2 separate regions of the Homo sapiens genome follow, and region 1 is linked to region 2. The links are contacts of gene promoters, found by promoter capture Hi-C in blood cells and fetal thymus (Javierre and others, 2016). All regions are on one chromosome and are shown on one strand. The core of a region is centred on a gene start or on the middle of the fragment in contact, and the rest is flanking DNA. Distances in the headings are between cores, read along the strand shown.

Region 1 (4,071 bases), core at 401-2,900, 210 kb after region 2:
TCCTGTTTTCCTTGGCCTTCAGCACACCTGGGGGCCGCTCCTGGCAGCACTGGAATTCTCGGGAAAACCACAGCTCCAGTGGGGCCTGGGGGCTGGCATATGCTGCACACAGCTAGGACAGGAGCACATGGAAGCCAGGCCCCTGCCACAGGCTGGTCACAGTGCTGGGGCTTGGACACACGTGGCCTTATCCATGGCTGGGCCACGGGGAGTTGCAGGGAAGGGCATTCCAGGCGGAGGGAACTACAAAGGTGGAGTTCCTGAGGGTGTCCCAAGATCGGACAACAGAGGCCCGGAAAGGGGATGTCTGGGGTCACACTCCTGCCTCCTGGATCTCGCCAGCCCTGAAATCCCCCTTCTAGGCAGCAGTCCCCTCCTCCTGTGCACACCACACTTGCCTCAGATTACAGAATAACTCACTGTAGGTGTCATTCTGGGCCTTTGTACCTGCTGTTCCCCCCACCTCGTACAAACTCCTCCATCCTTCAAGGTCCAGCTATAATGTCCCCTCCTCCAGGAAGCCTTCCCTGCTGATATTCTCCAGATAACCTTCCAGCCTAGCCATGATCCTCGGGACTGTGAGTGTCTGTGGTTTGCTCTGTCCCTCCGAGCCTGAGGGGCTCCCACCCAGGGGCCTGGACTGGTGTAGAAAGGTTAGGCTGGAGGGCTTGGTGAGCCGGGACAGCATCCCTATGATTCGTGTTCATTACTATTTTTTTTTTTTTTTTTTGAGATGGAGTCTCACTTTTGTCGCCCAGCTGGAGTGCGATGGTGCAATCTCGGCTCACTGCAACCTCTGCCTCCTGAGTTCAAGTGATTCCCCTGCTTCAGCCTCCTGAGTAGCTGGGATTACTGGCACCTGCCACCACGCCCAGCTAATTTTTTTATATTTTTAGTAGAGACGGGGTTTCACCATGTTGGCCAGGTTGGTCTCGAACTTCTGACCTCAGGTGATCCACCTGCCTCAGCCTCCCAAAGTGCTGGGATTACAGGCGTGAGCCACCGCGCCTGGCCATTACTACTTTTTATAATTAATGTAATGTCATTACTATTTTTTTTTTTTTTTAAAATAGAGATGGGGGTCTTATTATGTTGCCCAGGCTAGTCTCGAACTCCTGGGCTCAACAGATCCTCCTTCCTCGGCCTCTCAAAACCCTGGGATTTCAGCCACTGCACCCAGCCAACATTATCATATGAATCCTAGTAACCCCTGCCACCTCTGTACTTGATATGGCAGGGAAGGGGGCCACACAGCCTGGGTTCAAATATTGGTGAGCATGGCCTTACTGTGTGACCTAGGACAAGTCACTTAACCTCTCTGTGCTTCAGTTTTCTCACCCATAAAATGAGGATGATCACTGTTGAGAGGATTGAATGAGCTGACCCATGGAAATCCTTCAGCCCAGCGCCCAGCTCCAGCGCTACTAGCGTGCTTATTCCATATGAAATTTATACACCGTGGGCCAGTGTGGTGGCTCACACCTATAATCCCAGCACTTTGGGAGGCCACAGCAGGTGGATCACCTGAGGCCAGGAGTTCGAGACCAGTGTGGCCAACGTGAAACTCCATCTCTACTCAAAATACAAAAATTAGCTGGACGTGGTGGCGCGTGCCTGTAATCCCAGCTAATCGGGAGGCTGAGGCAGGAGAATCACTTGAACCGGGGAGGCAGAGGTTGCAGTGAGCCGAGATCACATCACTGCACTCCAGCCTGGGCGACCGAGTGAGACCTTGTCTCAAAAAAACAAAACAAAACAAAAAAACTTATACCCTGTGCCTGTCGCTTATACCTCAGATCGTTCTTATTTCTATCTTACTCAGAGAGGAGAAGAGACAGTCTGAGGTCACACAGCCAGAATTAGAACTGAGGCATGCAAGACCCTCAAGCCCTTCATACCCGCCCTCTCTGTCCTTGCCACAGAAACAGAATCCAGCATTTCGCTGGCCCGAGCCCCTCATTAACTGGGATGTCTTCTCGGCCCAGGACCTCCTGGCCAGAGCATCTGGCCGGCGCCCCAGCCAGCCCCACACCAGGCCCCGTGGTTCCAGGAGCCCGGCCAGGCTGGGGAAGAGGGACGGGTGCCTGCATGATGGGGCCCCGGGGCCCTTCCTGGCAGACGTCTGCTCAGCCAGGAGACGTGTGGGCGCCCCGGCTCCCTGCCTCCCGCCCCCACCGTTGCCTGCCTTTGTGAATGCAGAAGGAAAGTATGTTGTGAAGGCAGCCGCCCTGCCCTGGGCGGGCCGGGCTGTAGGCCCCCAGTCTGCGGAATTCATCAGGGCGGCAGGGGAGGGCAGCTTGGCGACCTCTGCATCCTCAGCCTGCCTTGAACTGGGAGAGACGTACTGGAGGCATCTCTCTAGAAGGAACAAAAGGCAGGGGTGGGATGGGGGGCTCTGAGCTTTGAAGTCCAGGAGACGCCCCCCGACTGGCCGTGTGACCTTTGGCAGGTGCCACCTCCTCTCCCAGTCTCCTTTTTTTTTTTTTTTTTTTTGAAACAGGGTCTTGCTCTGTTGCCTGGCCTGAAGTACAGTGACAATCATAGCTCACTCATTGCAGCCTCCAACTTCTGGGCTCAAGTGATCCTCCCACCTCAGCCTCCCAAAGTGCTGGGATCACAGATGTGCACCACTGCACCCAGCCCCATTCTCCTTTTACTCAGTCCCTACCCCCATTGCATCCCAGGCTCTACTGGATGGCGATAAAGGAAGAAGACAACAATAAATACAGTGGCTACAGTTTTCTTGAGCAAGTGCCAAATGCTTGAAACCTTACCACTCAGCCTTTGTGGGTTTTCTCTTTCTGTCATCCCTTAAGTCCCAGAAGGCAGGAATTTGTCATCATGGGAGACAGTGGGGCACAGTGATGAAGGTCTCAGTCTCTGGCATCAGAGCCTGAGTTTCATATCCCAGCTCTGCTGTGGTACATGAGGCAAGTTGCTTAACCTCTCTGTGCCTCAGTTTCTTCTTTTTTCCTTTATTTCTTCTTCTTTTTTTTGCCACCTTCGAAAGTTTCTTATAATGTAAAATTTTACTTCTCAGGTTACTATACTGAAGAGTTGCTTCAGGAGAGAAAGAATTTCACCAGAGGCCGGGCGTGGTGGCTCACGTCTGTAATCCCAGCACTTTGGGAGGCCAAGGAGGGCGGATGACCTGAGGTCAGGAGTTCAAGACCAGCCTGGCCAACATGGTGAAACCCTGTCTGTACAAAAGTACAAAAATTAGCCGGGCATGATGGCAGGTGTCTGTAATCCCAGCTACTTACTTAGGAGGCTGAGGCGGGAGAATTGCTTGAACTCAGGAGGCGGAGGTTGCAGTGACCCGAGACTGCACCATTGCACTCCAGCCTGGGCGACAGAGTAAGACTCTGTGTCAAAAAAAAAAAAAAAAAAAAAAAAAAAAAAAAAATTCACTAGGAACAGATAGGAATTTCACAATATTCAATTGATACTGGTTTCTTTCTTTTTTCTCTTTTCCTTCCTTCCTTCCTTCCCTTCCTCCTTCCTCCCTCCCCCTCTCCCTTCCTTCTTCCCTCCTCCCTGTCTCTCTCTCTTCCTCTCTGTCTCCATTTCTTTCTTGTTTTTGAGGTAGGTTCCCGCTCTGTCACCCCAGCTGGACCGCAGTGGTACAAACACAGCTCACTGTAGCTCAAACTCTTGGGCTCAAGCCGTCCTCACACCTCAGCCTCCTGATTAGCTGGGGCCAAAGGCATGTGCCACCACACCTGGCTAATTTTTTTTATTTTGTAGAGACAGGGTCTTGCTCTGTTGCCCAGGCTGCTCTCTAACTCCTGGGCTCCAGTGTCCCTTCCATCTTAGCCTCCAGGGTAGCTGGAATTACAGGCATAACACCTATATTTAATGAAGGTTTCATGCAGTCAAATAAACTAGTGTCTGTGTTCTGAGGGGAGGAGAGTGCCTTCAGGGCTAACTGTAGAAGCTTTGTTCTCTCCTTCAGTCTCTCTGTCTAATGAAGTGAAAATGGAAATGTGTAAAGTTTTACGCAAGGTAACGGTAGCAGGAAAAACCAAGGTGAATATAAGTATGAGAAGAATCCTGACCTCTTAGCGTCAG
Region 2 (4,009 bases), core at 430-2,929:
CAATTAGAGTGGTCATCCTCCCACACCCCAACAGCAGTTGGGCTCTCCTGTTGAGAGAGGGGACTGAGGGGTGGAGTTGGCAGGATTTACTGGGCAGGTTTGGGGACTTTCACAGAAGACCCCTGTGACTCAGTGTTTTGAGTTCTTAACCAATCGAGTGAAGGATTCAGAATTAACCACTCCAGGCCGGGCGCGGTGGCTCACGCCTGTAATCCCAGCACTTTGGGAGGCCGAGGCGGGCGGATCACGAGGTCAGGAGATTGAGACCATCCTGGCTAACCCGGTGAAACCCTGCCTCTACTAAAAATACAAAAAATTGGCCGGGTGTGGTGGCGGGCGCCTGTGGTCCCAGCTACTGGGGAGGCTGAGGCAGGAGAATGGCGTGAACCCGGGAGGCAGAGCTTGAAGTGAGCCGAGATCGTGCCATTGCACTGCAGCCTGGGCGACAGAGCGAGACTCTGTCTCACTAAAAAAAAAAAAAAAAAAAAACAAAAAAAAAAAACACTCCAGAGGAGGATTGAAAAAAGAACCACTCTCAATGGACAAAAAGAAAGGGGAGGGGTAACATAGGGATATGAGCCCTAGCCACCGGAGCCAGCAACGGCAACCCTTCCGGGTCCCCTTCCAGCATGTGGAAGCTTTCCTTTCGCTTTGTTCAATAAACTGCCCTGCTGCTCACTCTCCTGGTCCGTGGACTCTTTTTGATCTGTAACACACACCGCGAAGGTCCACAGCTTCATTCTTCAAAGTTAGCGAGACCACGAACCCATCGGCAAGAAAAACTCCCAACTCACTAACAGCCTAGTCCCTTCCCCCTTAAAGGCTGGTGTCTGTCACCCCATACCTGAGCTGGTCCCTCTTCACTAAGTCAGGCTACCAGCATCTTCCTGCTCCTCCGGCTGGGCCCCTGGAGGAGGAAGCTTTCCAAAGCTCTGTCTAGCCCATGTATCCCTCCAGCAGGAAGCTCCAAGGCCTCCTCTGTACTTTGAGGTCGTTCTGGCCCCTGCTATGCTCCAGGCTCAGGGCTATTACACAAGACACCCAATTCAACTCGGTGGGCTGTTGACACCGTCCCTGTCACTGAATCTTGTCTTCACCCCTGTGATTCTCTGAAGAGCCAGTGAATCTCTGTTAATGTTGGTGGAGTTCCAGCCACTGCACTTTTTTTGAGGCAGACTCACTGTGGCTCCGGCTGGAGTGCAGTGGCATGGTCATAGCTCATGGCAGCCCCCAACTCCCGGGCTCATGTAATCCTCCCACCTCAGCCTCCCGAGTAGCTGGGACTGGAGGCGGGAGCCACCATGTCGGGCTAATTGGTTTTTCTGTAGAGATCGGGCCTCCCTAGGTTGCCCAGGCTTACTTAACACTCTTGAACGTCAAAACCCACGCTCAGTACCCGCTTCAAGTGGAAGTCGGTGTTGAGATACAAGCATAGGAACGAACTCAAGGCTAACAGCTGTTCTGTATTCAGAGCCGCACAATCAAGGAAAAACACGATCGGAGGCGGGCCCTGGACGGGAACAAGAAGGGTGGGCTTGACTGGGCGGCCCGCGGTCTTGGTTCCCCTTTCTTCCTTCTGGCTGGCCGGCCGCAGGGTAGGGGGTCCGTGGACCTCCCGGCCTGTAGGGGGCGTCGGGCGCAGCGGAAGGGCCTGCTCCGGAGCCTGGCCAGGGCTGCGCAGTCATGATCACCGAGACCGCGGCGGAGCCTACGGTCCCTGCAGTGCCTGCTGCTGAGGAGGCCACCGAAGCTCGGGGACGCGAGGAGCCGGCGTGGCCCTGGGTGAGCCCAGGCCCAAGCGGGAACGGGCGCGGGGCGGGCGGCGCAGACCCAGGGGCGCGGGCTTCATGCCCCAGCCGTGCCCCCTGTCCCGCAGAAAGACGCCCCGATCCGGACGCTGGTGCAGCGCATCCACCAGCTGCAGGCTGAGCGCGCGCAGGGCTTCCGCCGACTGGAGGAGTGAGTGGGGGCGCGGAGGGGCTCAGGGTTCGGTCCCCCGCCCGCTCCGGGCGTGGGCGTGTTCTCGGCGGGCGTGCCTGGAGGAGGAGCTGGGTCCTTGTGTGGCTGCAGAGTCAGATGGGGCGGGGATTTCGGGGCACCGGGTCCTCACCTTCACGAAAAAGGCCCCACAGCACGTCCCCACTACCCGACGACTCACTCTTCGTGGCTTCTCTCTCCTCCCCAAGAGCAGGGGTGGGCCTGTCTCGCGTTCCCCTGCGGGAGTCAGGAAGCGTCCTTCCTACCTACCAGTCCTCCCCTCTGGTGTCTGGGGACACTTCCTGGGGGCCTTTCAGGTGGTTGGCGCCGGTGCAGGGCCTGAGAGCCTGGGGGCGCGGCCTCAGGGTCCCCACATGCCGCAGAGGCCACCGCCAGTACCTGCGCAGCGGCCCTGACTACGACTTCGCGCGCTACCGGAGCACAGTGCACGGGGTGACCCAGGCCTTCGCCGCCGCCTCGCGGGAGGTGCTGGCGGTGGAAGCAGAGCTGGGCGGGCCTCGCAGGCAGCCGCTGCTCGCCGGCCACGTGCGCAGCCTGCAGGAGCTGGAGCAGACGCGGCTGGGCACGGTGAGGCCACCACCCCTTCCCCGCCGTGTCTCTAGGACCCTGGCCGGCTCCTCTCATGACGCACCCCTGGTTGGGGGGTGGTCCCAGTATCCCATACACAGACCTCACCCCTTCCTGTCCCACCCCAATCCTCTATTAAGGCTTCACTTGGGGATTCTCGGACCTTGCCCTCTGCTGTTCATCCCCAATTTTTTTCCCAAGTTTTGTCCTTATTCCCAGAGCACTCCCGCTTTCTCCCAGCTCCGCCTAAATGCTATTCCAAGATGCCCAGATCCCGCCCCAACAATGCTCCACCCACTCTGGTTGTTCCGCGTCTAGGGTCCCACCCTCAACCTCCCGTAGATACAGGCGAGGGGGGTCCCAGGCCACGCCTCCTCCGTATTATTCCTCCATCACAGCTTTAGTTCTTTGCCTATTTCTCTCTTGCGATCCGCCTGCTCGGCCCTGCAACCGTGTGTGACTGGAATTCCTAGGCCACGCCCCCCATGAGCGACCCGTCTCAGCGTCTCTTTGGCCTTTTTCTTTCTGGTGTTTTTTTTTTTTTTTTTTTTTTTTAAGACAGGCTCTTGCTCTCTTGCTCTCTCACCCAGGCTAGAGTGCAATGGCGCGATCTCGGCTAACGGCAACCTCCGCCTCCCAGATTCAAGCGATTCTCCTGCCTCAGCCTCCTGAGTAGCTGGGATTACAGGCATAATTTTTGTATTTTGTATTTTTTTTAGTAGAGACGGGGTTGTGCCATATGGGCAAGGCTGGTCTCGAACTCCTGGTCTCAAGCGATCCGCCCTCTTCTGCTTCCCGAAGTGCTGGGATTTCAGGCGTGAGCCACCGCGTCCAGGCTTTTTGGCCTACTTTTATCCTGGGTCCCCGTCCCTGGGACCATGAGGCGCAACCTAACCCACCCCTACGGCCAATGCCTGGCTAAGACGTCACTGTTGTTCCCAGGCCACGCCCACATCGCGCTCAGCACTGCCTCTGGCCTGCCTGCTGTCTCCTTTCTGAGAGAGCCTCTAAACTGAATTTCGGACTCTTCCTACACAAAGCACTGCCCCTCGTGGTTCTACCCGGGCACTGCCTTTCTGGGTGCCTCTGTTTTTTCCTGAACATCCTTGGAGGGCAGGGGGTGGGTTCTGCTCGTGGAGACATCCTTCGTGTTGCTCATTCCCCCACCAGGTGGCCCTGCTGCAGTTGATGGAGACGCCAGAGCTGGCGGGGCAGGAGGACGCTGTACGGATGCAGCAGCTGAAAATGAAGTGAGCGCTGCTGCCCAAGCCGCCTGGCTATGCTCGATTTGCACCAGGGTTGGCACGGTCAGGACGCTGCCAGCAGAGGAACCCTCTGCCAGTGCACAATGGTGTTCTCACCTGGTGGCCCTCAGATGTACACTTCCCCAGAGGGCACAGCCGTGAAACTTCACATCAGTTTCGCTGTGCATTGCTGGGACACT

Evidence for each region. The method cuts DNA at HindIII sites, captures the fragments that hold promoters and counts their contacts. A CHiCAGO score of 5 or more calls a contact.
Region 1: a fragment that was not itself captured here is called in contact with the fragment with the promoter of REX1BD in region 2 in 1 of 17 cell types (M0 macrophages); the score reaches 5.1 in M0 macrophages.

Annotation. Positions count from the first base shown.
Region 1 is chr19:18,793,604-18,797,674 of GRCh38, forward strand. No RefSeq gene overlaps it. Among named protein-coding and RNA genes, the nearest start is that of COMP, 4.3 kb to the left of the region's middle. RefSeq lists an enhancer at 1,577-2,106. The HindIII fragment of the contact is 4,570 bases long and covers 1-3,935 here.
Region 2 is chr19:18,587,119-18,591,127 of GRCh38, forward strand. It overlaps REX1BD (required for excision 1-B domain containing), which reads left to right and starts at 1,680. Exons shown (of 5, transcript NM_001100418.2): 1 at 1,680-1,782; 2 at 1,877-1,959; 3 at 2,295-2,565; 4 at 3,736-3,815. The coding sequence starts at 1,684. RefSeq lists a silencer at 1,508-2,027. The HindIII fragment of the contact is 10,738 bases long and covers 919-4,009 here.